Linked DNA regions of Homo sapiens: regions 1, 3 and 4 are each linked to region 2. Evidence: promoter capture Hi-C in 16 types of primary human blood cells and fetal thymus (Javierre and others, 2016). All regions are on one chromosome and are shown on one strand. Each heading gives the region's core, a stretch centred on a gene start or on the middle of the fragment in contact. The rest is flanking DNA. Distances are from core to core; before and after follow the strand shown. Region 1 holds the start of ZNF687 (zinc finger protein 687). Region 2 holds the start of H2BC21 (H2B clustered histone 21). Region 3 has its middle 22 kb from the start of NUDT4B. Region 4 overlaps MINDY1 (MINDY lysine 48 deubiquitinase 1).

The links. The method cuts DNA at HindIII sites, captures the fragments that hold promoters and counts their contacts. A CHiCAGO score of 5 or more calls a contact.
Region 1: the fragment with the promoter of ZNF687 here is called in contact with the fragment with the promoter of H2BC21 in region 2 in 1 of 17 cell types (fetal thymus); the score reaches 5.8 in fetal thymus.
Region 3: a contact is called between a fragment that was not itself captured here and the fragment with the promoter of H2BC21 in region 2, in 7 of 17 cell types (M1 macrophages, monocytes, neutrophils and 4 more). The highest score is 16.8, in M1 macrophages.
Region 4: a contact is called between a fragment that was not itself captured here and the fragment with the promoter of H2BC21 in region 2, in 1 of 17 cell types (non-activated CD4 T cells). The highest score is 5.6, in non-activated CD4 T cells.

The regions. Positions count from the first base shown.
Region 1 is chr1:151,280,973-151,283,672 of GRCh38, reverse strand. It overlaps ZNF687 (zinc finger protein 687), which reads right to left and starts at 1,374. Exons shown (of 9, transcript NM_020832.3): 1 at 1,278-1,374. It overlaps ZNF687-AS1 (ZNF687 antisense RNA 1), which reads left to right and starts at 1,744. Exons shown (of 2, transcript NR_135595.1): 1 at 1,744-2,130. RefSeq lists enhancers at 263-332, 641-1,526, 1,573-1,802, 1,833-2,032, 1,527-2,411 and silencers at 753-912, 1,193-1,472, 2,154-2,494. The HindIII fragment of the contact is 14,019 bases long and covers 1-1,766 here.
Region 2 is chr1:149,885,276-149,887,975 of GRCh38, reverse strand. H2BC21 (H2B clustered histone 21) reads left to right here and starts at 1,294. Exons shown (of 1, transcript NM_003528.3): 1 at 1,294-2,700. The coding sequence starts at 1,336. The coding sequence ends at 1,716. It overlaps H2AC20 (H2A clustered histone 20), which reads right to left and starts at 1,058. Exons shown (of 1, transcript NM_003517.3): 1 at 565-1,058. The coding sequence starts at 1,001. The coding sequence ends at 612. H2AC21 (H2A clustered histone 21) reads left to right here and starts at 11. Exons shown (of 1, transcript NM_175065.3): 1 at 11-507. The coding sequence starts at 60. The coding sequence ends at 452. RefSeq lists enhancers at 1-230, 251-390, 801-860, 991-1,060, 1,381-1,670 and 3 more. The HindIII fragment of the contact is 10,069 bases long and covers 1,092-2,700 here.
Region 3 is chr1:148,769,819-148,772,518 of GRCh38, reverse strand. It overlaps the pseudogene SEC22B3P. Among named protein-coding and RNA genes, the nearest start is that of NUDT4B, 22 kb to the right of the region's middle. RefSeq lists enhancers at 1-160, 161-720. The HindIII fragment of the contact is 2,490 bases long and covers 51-2,540 here.
Region 4 is chr1:151,002,933-151,005,633 of GRCh38, reverse strand. All of the region lies in intron 1 of MINDY1 (MINDY lysine 48 deubiquitinase 1), which reads left to right. Among named protein-coding and RNA genes, the nearest start is that of MINDY1, 2.6 kb to the left of the region's middle. The HindIII fragment of the contact is 1,608 bases long and covers 486-2,093 here.

The DNA of each region.
Region 1 (2,700 bases), core at 125-2,624, 1.4 Mb before region 2:
CTGAGCTACCTTCCACTCAGGTACTCAGAAAAGTGGACTGCTACAACGAAGACCAGCGGGGACTAGGAGAAAACACCTGCGAACTCACCCGCCCCCACACCCCGCCAGCCACCTCCCTCTTGGGTGCCCCAGTGACTTAGAGGTCATCCGATGGCCACCCACCCAGAGCAGACAGTCGACCAAGCAAGCCGCCAAGCTCAAGCCAAGGAGGATCAGGCCTTCCTGCGACTGCTGAGCCCTGTCTCTAGGGCTCCTATCTCCCCCGCCCCCTTTCCCTCTGTGGTTCCCCAAAAGCCAAAGAGGCTGAACAGGAAGAGGCTGAACAGGCCCAGGTCGAGTGGGGGCTCCACTGACCTTTGCCCGGGCCCAAGGCCTGCAGCGCAGAGGAGGGCGAGGGGCTGGCGGCGATTAGGTTGAGGCCAAGCTGGGTAGCAGACGGAATTAAGTCCCTGCCATCTGCCGAGGGCTGGCGCGGGGAGCAAGTCCTGGGTTTCGAGGAGGGGGCGGGGTGTACACATGAGAAACTACAAGGGAAACTGAGGCGCGCGGCCCTTCTCTCACTCGCACCGGCGTGCGAAGCGAAGGCCGGGCCTCAGCCAGGCCAGGCCCTTTGGGAGCTGCTGCGCAGCACCTGGGGACCCAGGACTACACAGGATAGGGTGGGGAGCTGGAAAGAGGGGAGGAGAGAGGGGACGGTCTCTGCGCGACTCTCAGCTCTCTAGCTGGGGTCCGTCCCAACTCGGACCTCGTCCCCTCCCCTCCGGGCGCAGCGGAGCCTCCTCCCGCCGCGCACTCCCGGAGGCTCGCTAGAGACTGGAGACTGATCGGGGGGTGCGCAGGGGGCCGGGGGCGCAAGCCTGAGTCTTGCCCGGGCCCGGACGCTGACCCGCACCCAGTCGGGGTGCAGGTTCTGCTCCGGCCTGGCCCAGGTCCCCCGCCCCCATCCCCGGGAACGGACACCATTTTAGGTCGCGACATCCCGCAGCCTTCAATCTCCGGGCCGCACTTCGGGTGCCTCTCGAGCCGGGGGCGCCAGGACCTGGGGTTCTCGACCCTCCTGGGGGTTTACCCGGCTACGGACTGTGCTTACAACAGGCCAGGAGTTTCGCCCATCCGCCCCAATGGATGGAGGCGGTGTCTGGGCCTTCCTAGAAGCCGCCCCAGGGGGCGGCGCGGAGAAGGGGGTAGTTGACCAAGTGGGGGAGGGGCGGGGGTATTTACCCGCCCCCCCCAAGGGGGCGGAGCCAAGGGCGGGTATTTACCCCAGGCACGCTTACTTGTTCCGCTCCTGGTGCGGGCCGAGACCCGGCGGTCTCTACCCCGCTCCAGCCGCTGCAGCCACCGCCGCCCTCCCCGCGGCCGCCGCTACTTCCTGCTTCTCTCCGGTTCGGCCTCCCCACTCCCTCTCCTCCCTCCGCGCTCCAGGTCTGGGCTGCCCGTTTTCGCACTCGCCATTGGCCCTTGCCCCCGTCGCTCAGCCCTGTGCCCCTTCCAGCCCCGCACTGGGTTGGCCCTAAATACTGCCGCTCGGAACTAGCCCCGCACAGTCCTCTTATGCTCATTGGGCAAGGGGCCGAGGCCCTCTGAAGATACCTCTCCCCATTGGCTGCGCCGGGGTCCGTCTGCCCCATCTACGAGTCTCGTAAACGATTGGCCTCCGCCACTGTCGCTTAGAAAGAAGCCAGCCTGCTTCCCAGCTTGCCTACTGGAAGGGGGAGCACCCAGGTGCGTCTCCGCCCCTCGCTCCCTACTGGCCGCTCGAAGCTTGAAGCTGCAGTTCACTTTCGCGAATGTAAGGAACCCAGCTTCTGTGTGGTGGGCACTGAGAGCAGAACCGCATTGAGTCGGAGTGGAGCACAGAAGTGTAGGTCCTTTTGCGCTGTTTCAAGCTAAACCCGTGTCACTGATGCCGTACAGAAGTTACAGAATGGGACGCCACCCCAAACATTACGTCATCCGCTGACCATTTCCTTGCGGTCTTCCCACCGTCTAAATCGCCATATAATCTGATGGATGGGGTCCTCGCGCGGTTCAGCTCCTGGGCGACAGCGTAACCCGTCGCTCCTCCCTCTGCGGGAGGGCGTGGACGGGGCACGGGATTTGGAGCATGGAAGGAATCGGGACCTAAAGGTTGGGAAGGGCTCGCGGACCGGAAGCGGGGGAGGTGACGTAGGAGTGCTGGCGTGGCCGGGCCATTTCCAAAGAGGCATTAAAGGAGCAACTGATAGGCGTCCTAAGTATGGGCTGGGGGGGGAACCGCCAGCTCCATTTCCCATTTAAGGGCTCCCCTTTTCCCCGCCCCCAGCATGGAGTGGGGGTGGGGTCAAGGTCGAGTTTTCCCGCGCTTTGTTGCCACGCCCCCTGGAGGCGGGGGAAAGGGAGGAGTCGCTCGGAAAATGAATCTCCTTGATGCTCTAATAGCACTCACTGGCAGAATTCGTATGCAAGCCCAGTGTGCCACCTCGCGCACGCAGCCGCTCGTTAACGGCGTGTTTTTATTTTTTAATTAATTTTTTTGAGGCAGAGCCTCACTCTGCTGCCCAGGCGGGAGCACAGTGGCGCGATCACGGCTGACTGCAGCCTCAACCTCCCAGGCTCCAGTGATCCTCCCGCCTCAGCCTCCTGAGTAGCTGGGACTACAAGTGAGCGCCAAATCGCCCTGCTAACTTTTTTATTTTTTGAAGAGACAGGGTTTTGCCA
Region 2 (2,700 bases), core at 45-2,544:
GTTATTCTTTCCACATTCTTCTCCTTGTAAAAGAAGCTGTAACTGCAATTTTAGCCGTAATGTCAGGACGCGGAAAGCAGGGAGGCAAGGCCCGCGCTAAGGCCAAGTCGCGCTCGTCCCGCGCTGGTCTCCAGTTCCCGGTGGGGCGAGTGCACCGCTTGCTGCGCAAAGGCAACTACGCGGAGCGGGTCGGGGCAGGCGCCCCGGTGTACCTGGCGGCGGTCCTCGAGTACCTGACCGCGGAAATTCTGGAGCTGGCGGGCAACGCGGCTCGGGACAACAAGAAGACGCGCATCATCCCTCGCCATCTGCAACTAGCCGTGAGGAATGACGAAGAGCTCAACAAGTTACTCGGGGGTGTCACCATTGCCCAGGGCGGCGTCTTGCCCAATATCCAGGCTGTCCTGTTGCCCAAGAAAACGGAGAGTCACAAGCCTGGCAAGAACAAGTAATTAAGAGGCTTGACACCATACTCATTCACCCCAAAGGCTCTTTTAAGAGCCACCAAAGTGTCAAATGAAGGGCTGATCACGAAATAGCGCATTAGCTCTTTTTTTGAAAACTTGGGTGGCTCTAAAAAGAGCCTTTGGTCTTGGTTTGTTTGTCTGCATTTATTTGCTTTTGGCTTTGTGGCTTTCGGTTTTCTTTGGTAACAGAACGGCCTGGATGTTAGGCAAAACGCCGCCCTGGGCGATGGTGACTTTGCCCAGCAGCTTGTTCAGTTCCTCGTCGTTGCGGATGGCCAGCTGGAGGTGACGAGGGATGATGCGCGTCTTCTTGTTGTCCCGAGCCGCGTTGCCCGCCAGCTCCAGGATCTCGGCGGTCAGGTACTCGAGGACCGCCGCCATGTAGACGGGCGCGCCGGCCCCCACCCGCTCCGCGTAGTTGCCTTTGCGCAGCAAGCGGTGCACTCGCCCTACCGGGAACTGGAGGCCAGCGCGGGACGAGCGCGACTTGGCCTTGGCGCGGGCCTTGCCTCCTTGTTTGCCACGACCAGACATGACTGAAATCAAGGTTAAACACAGACAACGCTCAGAACCTCGCAACAAAATAAGATTGAAAGAGAACCAAGAGGAAAGCCTTTATAAGCTTTCCTAGGGGTGGGGTCAAGAACGAGTTTTTCATTGGTCCTAATATGGCTTCAGAACCGGCCAATCAAGTCAAGAGTCGGTGTTGTTACGTACGCATTGCTGAAAACGCAAGGTCCGCACACGGACCAATGGAAATGAACGACTTTCGGAGCCCTAATTTGCATAAGGTGGTTATAAAAGAATCAGGCCCGCCCATTCTCTTACTTCTTTTCTTGGCTAAGCCGCGTTTGTACTGTGTCTTACCATGCCTGAACCGGCAAAATCCGCTCCGGCCCCTAAAAAGGGCTCCAAGAAAGCCGTCACCAAAGCCCAGAAGAAAGACGGCAAGAAGCGCAAGCGCAGCCGCAAAGAGAGCTACTCCATCTACGTGTACAAGGTGCTGAAGCAGGTCCACCCCGACACCGGCATCTCGTCCAAGGCCATGGGCATCATGAACTCCTTCGTCAACGACATCTTCGAGCGCATCGCGGGAGAGGCTTCCCGCCTGGCGCACTACAACAAGCGCTCCACCATCACATCCCGCGAGATCCAGACGGCCGTGCGCCTGCTGCTGCCCGGCGAGCTGGCCAAGCACGCCGTGTCCGAGGGCACCAAGGCGGTCACCAAGTACACCAGCTCCAAGTGAGTCCCTGCCGGGACCTGGCGCTCGCTCGCTCGAGTCGCCGGCTGCTTGACTCCAAAGGCTCTTTTCAGAGCCACCCACCTAATCACTAGAAAAGAGCTTGTTCACTTATTCCCTTAGTTTCTTTTCATAAAGTAAGTTATTTTAGTGTGAAGGTCATGGGAAATGGCATACGTAGCTTTTTAACTATTTGGAACTCGAGGTCCCCAGTGCGTCATTGGATTTGCTTTTGAATCTAGAGCGTGTCTTTACTCATTGTGCTGCTTAGCCTTCCCAGGAGTCGGTTCTCAATTAGGCTGTTGGGAATCCGCCTCTTTACCCGCCCCCACTCCCGCCCCACACGCGCCCTGGTGGCTCCTTGGGTCTGTTTCATTCTAAAACGAAGTGGCTGAGTTCGGCTGTCATTTAAGAGAACTCCAGGACACAATTCAGCCCGGGTTCCGCAAACACTGCGTGACAGCTCTGTATGACTGACGCTTGGCAGCAGCTTTTGTGTCCGGTCACCAGTTCTGCCGTGCGATGGGGCCTCCTGTGGATACCAGCCGTTCTGTGTATTTTGGACGAAGGCCGCGCAGCCGGGTCCCAGCCTTGTCCTGATTGGGCGACAAGAATATTCAAAATTCTGCGCCTTTTTCTAATTTGTAGATTTCAGTTTCCGTCGTTCACTTTGAGACTTTGAAATTCCTATTTCTCATTTTGTTGATAATTTCTGCATTTAATGGTCTGTGCTTTAAATGGTAACGCTACGGCCCCAGGTCACTGCGAGGCACTTACCATGTAGATACGGGCTCAAAAGTCACCTCTCAGAGACCTACGTCATCCACTCAGGAATTCGCGCCTCTCATACTTGCCTGTCTCATTTTATCTTCCTTCTAGCAGCTGTCTGAAATTGGTTCGTCTGTTTTCTTGTTTATGGTATTCTCAAGCCCTTGACAGACCGGCTAGTGTGGTTTTCCCGTGCATCTTCAGCCTGGCACATTATGGACA
Region 3 (2,700 bases), core at 46-2,545, 1.1 Mb after region 2:
TGCAAGAAAAGAGATGTCCTGAAAATGAAAGGTTGCACCTCATTTAATGAAGCTTAACCCTATGTAGAAAGTCTCTTTCGGGGGCAGAGGCTTTCTCTGGGTGCCAAGCCATATATATTAGGGAATAGTAGATTGTTATTTCGTTTTTTCCCTCCCAGTGCATTTTAAAAACAGCACTGGCTGGGCATTCTCATTCTCTGATGGAGCCATCAATGAGATTTAACTTAGTCAACCTGTGCTAGCAACATTCTGAAATTCCTTCAAAGAAGGCAGTCCTTTGGGAAGGTGTTTTTTTTTTTTTGTTTTTTTGTTTTTTTGTTTTTTTTTGACTCTAATCAACATTCCTTTTGTTGGTGACATTTGTGATTTTCAGTAATCTGAGTTTTTGATGGCCTTTTAAACAAGACTCCAGTATGTGAAGGTTAATTGCTGTGCTCCACAGATCTTGTCTATTGGCCCCTGTAGAAAGTTAACCTTTGTTGTTTTCCTTTTATAATTTGCTTATTGCACAATTGCTTTAGGGTAAGTGAATTATATTAAGATGCCTTGAAATTATAGCACTCCTTGATTAAGAAGCTAAAATGTTTCTCTCATTTACTCCTTAAACAAAAGACTTAAATTAGTTTGGGTCATTATTACTTTTATTTTGCAGCATTTGGTTTGTTATTAGTGTAAGAGCAAGTATAGGATATGGAGAGGCCCCTGGCTTCATGAGAACAAAGGCAGGCCCAGGTTATAATTACAGCTTTCTCCTGCCCCTTCTTTACTTTCTCTACCACAGTTTTCTCCGCTGTTTGTTTTCCTCTTGCCACAATTTGCTAACACTTAAAAAATTTTCCTGCACCCAGTAGTTTCATATCCTGTAGACATCCTCTTAGGACATTCTCAAATTTCAAAATAAAAAATATTCATCTATGTAGTTAATTAAAGTTAAAGTTTCTGCAGATCAACTACTCAAACTACTAAATACATTTACCTGAGAAAAAGTCTCTGAGAGCACTTCATTCCTGTTTTAGTTCGTGTAAATTCTCTGAGAATGTTCTGGAGATAGATAACTCATTTACAGTGGTTTCTATTAACTAATTAAAGTACCCATGATTTTTTCCTTTTCTGCTCAGGGATGATGGAGATTTCCTTTTACCTTTTTTAATGGGGTAAATTTTTTAATGGGGAAAATAGGCCTTTTAAATATTATTGCCAGGGTCTGCAATATAACTTAAAATTCCTGTACATACTGCAAATATTTCTTTAAATTGCACAGGAAAATGAGCGAACTTTTTATTTCTTAATATCTTTGGCAAAAAACTTTAACCAGTAAGCAATTTTATAACCCTGAGGGATCATCAAAGATACTATCCTGATTCCTGGTAAGGAAAAATATATTATTTCCTTATAACAAGGCAAGGAGAAATGCTATTTTATTCCTGATAATTTATATAGCTAGAATAATTTTTTTCCTTTCTTTTATGGACCTAAATCTGCCAATTGGGAATTTTGTGCATGAAATATGAAGTTACTTTTTATAGATAATCAGTGCTTTTAAGTCCCTAAAAGGCTCCTGCTGAAGTAATGATGAAGTTCATAATAAAAGCCTTTGAAAGGCTGAAAACCTACATAGTGGTACCATAGTATTTGGAGCTTCTATAGGAGTGGAGAGGGGCAGCTCATTGTTGAGAGTTGCATGCTGCAACCTAATGGTCAGCAATGAAAGAAATACTTGTAGAATGTTCACTTCAGTGTGAAGTTTTGTTATCTAGTTAATTTATATACATATATCCTTTGTAGATACATTTCTATCTAATCTTGTTGAGCTAATTAAGAAATAAGGGGTGGGGTAATTGTCAACAAAGGGAGAAGAAAGTGGTTTAAGATCAGGGCAGCAGAAAAATTAGAGAACAAGAATATCATAATATGGCTCCTGGTTTTCTTTATAAGAGGCAGTGGGAAGATCTGACTAGATGAAATGTATCATCAACCAAACTGGCATCTAAAATAGAATGGGATAAATACTGTATGGGGTTATTGGAGGCATATTAAGAAAGGACACCTAATTTATTTTGGGAAGAAGTATGTTAAGAGAAGACTTTCTAGAGAAGGAGAATGGGGCATTCTAGGAAGAGTCAATGGCATGTGCAAAGGCATGAATAAAGACAGTGAGGCATGTTTTGGAAATGTAACAGCTTGATTCAGCTTAGCCCATAGGGTAAGCATAGACAACAGAGGAGACTTGAGGAATGAGAACTAGATGGGTACACTATCATAAAGGGACTTGTCTATCATGCTGAGGAGTTTAGACCATCTTAATGGTAGTGGCCAAGGATGGCATCAGATTTATAGTTTCAAGTGATCATAATATTGGCATAAAAGATATATTAGGGAGGAAGCCTGAAGTAGGGAGATGAAAATAAGGAGCCATCAAAGGCAGAATGAAACTTAGGCAGATTTCAAGTGATTTTCAAAAATGATGTGATCAGAGGTACCAGATAATAACTATTACATAACACTTTCTTTGTTAGGAGCTTATTTCTCACACTGACCAAAGCTTTTGAAGTAAGTACTCTTTACACCACTATATAAATAAACCTTACAAAGGATTCTGCTTTGAGGCATGAGAGAGTTAAGTCATTTGCCCAAAGTCACAGAGTTAGAAAGTAATAGAGCTAAGATTTGAACCTAGGCAGTTTGGCTCCAGAGTCTGTG
Region 4 (2,701 bases), core at 40-2,539, 1.1 Mb before region 2:
CAGTTCCTCTGAGACCCCACTCCCTCAGGTGTCCACTCCTGGGTTCCTTTGGCTCACCTCTCCAGCCAGCTAGCTGCCCAACCCCCACTTCATCATTGATCATTTCTGGCACTGGAGAGAAAATATAAAAAATAAGGCCTGCTTTTCTTTTTTTTTTTTCTTTTTTTCTTTTTTTTTTTGGAGGCAAGAGTCTCACTCTTGTCACCCAGGCTGGAGTGCAGAGGCACAATCTTGGCTTACTGCAACCTCCACCTCCGGGGTTCAAGCAATTCTCCTGCCTCAGCCTCCTGAGTAGCTGGGATTACAGGTGCCCGCCACCGTGCCCGGCTAATTTTTGTATTTTTAGTAGAGATGGGGTTTCGCCATGTTAGCCAGGCCGATCTTGAGCTCCTGACCTCAGGTGATCCGCCCGCCTCGGCCTCTCAAAGTGCTGGGATACAGGTGTGAGGCACTGTGCCCGGCCAAGGCCTGCTTTTCTTCAAGCTTTTTCACTTTTCCAGGCTCTGGCATCTGCTTTGAGGTTCACCCTAAGTGTCATTTAAGGGGAGAAGGAAAGGAGAGAGAGAAAGAGAGAGAAAAAAAAGCATAAGGCCTGCAGGCAATTTTTGCTACTCTGATTCTAAATTAACAACACGTAAATGATATGCAGCTAGCATAAACATATGTGAATCAAGAGGATAATCAATTTGAGTGACTAGGCTTATTTTGTTTCAGTAACTTTAATGTTCCTCAACCTCATCTCCCAGGCCTTCCCCTAGCCCCAAATTCCTGTAGGTTTACAAGAAGGAAGCAGTCTCAGGCTGGGAGGAGGGTGGAGAAAAGACAAGATTTCTAACTAGTTTAATTTATTTTATTTTATTTTATTTTATTTTATTTTATTTTATTTTATTTTATTTTATTTTTGAGATGGAGTTTCGCTCTGTCACCCAGGCTGTAGTGCAGTGTCACCATCTCAGCTCACTGCAACCCCCTGCCTCCCAGGTTCAAGCAATTCTCCCACCTCAGCCTCCCGAGCAGCTGTGACTACAGGCACGTGCCAACACACCTGGCTAATTTTTGTACTTTCAATACAGACAGCGTTTTGCCATGTTAGCCAGGATGGTCTCGATCTCCTGACCTCAAGTAATCTGCCCGCCTCAGCCTCTCAAAGTGCTGGGATTACAGGCGTGAGCCACCGCGCCTGGCCCCTAACTAGTTTAATTTCTCCCTGTTTCTCTCCCTGATAAAGAGTGGGAGGGGAGCAAGGAGATTGAAGGGAGATGTTTTCCAAAGGGCAGGATTTGTGGTTTTTTATTATTTATACCCACAGTATTAGTTAAATGTCTATCTGTGCTTGCCTCAATGTGCCTCCAGTGCTGATAGAGAACAGGTTAAACAGGTCCGGTGTTCACATCTAAAATGACCTGGAGAGGACTGGGCACGGTGGCTCATGCCTGTAATCCCAGCACTTTGGGAGGCCAAGGTGGGAGGATCACCTGAGGTCGGAAGTTCAAGACCAGCCTGACCAACATGGAGAAACTCCATCTCTACTAAAAAATACAAAATTAGCTGGGCATGGTGTTGCATGCCTGTAATCCCAGCTACTCGGGAGGCTGAGGCAGGAGAATCACTTGAACCCAGGAGGCAGAGGTTGCAGTGAGCCGAGGTCGCACCATTGCACTCCAACCTAGGCAACAAGAGCAAAACTCTGTCTCAAAAAAATAAAAATAAATAAATAAAACCACTTGGATGGGAATAGACATAAAACTTTAGGTAGGTGAATGTACAGGAAGTATTGTTATGTAAATTAATAATCAGCATTTTCATATTTCATAGAAATAGCAGGCAAGAGAGTACCTCTGGGTTTAGGTAGTTTCTGGGGAAAAAAAATGAACTGAGGAAAAGTTGCTGTCTCAATGCTAGCTGTCAAGAGATGCTTACTGGGTCCAGGCACCGTGGCTCATGCCTGTAATCCCAGTCCTTTGGCAGGCTGAGGAGGGCGGATTGCTTGGGCCCCCAGGAGTTAAGACCAGCCTAGGCAACAAAGCAAGACCCTGTCTCAGTTTAATTAAAAGAAATTTGATATCTTTATTAATTTTTTTTAAAGAGAAGCTTACTGGAAGAACTTGTGGGGAGTGCTTTTTGTGCCCCTAATCTGAAGTTATTTATCAAAACCAGTCTCTGATTCCAGCCCCCACCACCTACATTTCCCCTCCCAGCTTACAGGAAACCCCTCCCAAGGCCTTTATACTGTGGTTTGGGATTGTGTAAGGTTCAGTAGAGCCCTTTGAGGTGGAAGACTTCCCCTTCCTCACCAGCATTTCACCTTTAGGGGCATGAAACTGACTCTCTGTGCCTCCTCCATTCTTCACCCCAAGTACTATGTGACTTAATCTTTTTATCCTTGGGTGAGGCAGAGAGAAGGTATCCCTAAACATACAAGCACTGTGTATTCTTAGTATGTTGTGTGAAGGGGCAGGGTGTGGGGTAGGGCAGAGGAATTATCTCTGTCATGGCTATGAGGGGGTTACTGATGTGATGCCTATTAGAGTAAGCTAAAGATCATCATATTAATAACCATTAGCGTAGATTTAACATTTCTTTCTCCACCTCTTATCCTTCTTTCTCCTTTGTGCTCTCCCTTTCTCTCTGTCTTTCCTCCCTTCCCTGTCATGATCTGTTTCAGGGAAGCTGACTCCACCCATGTGTTCAATCCCACCAG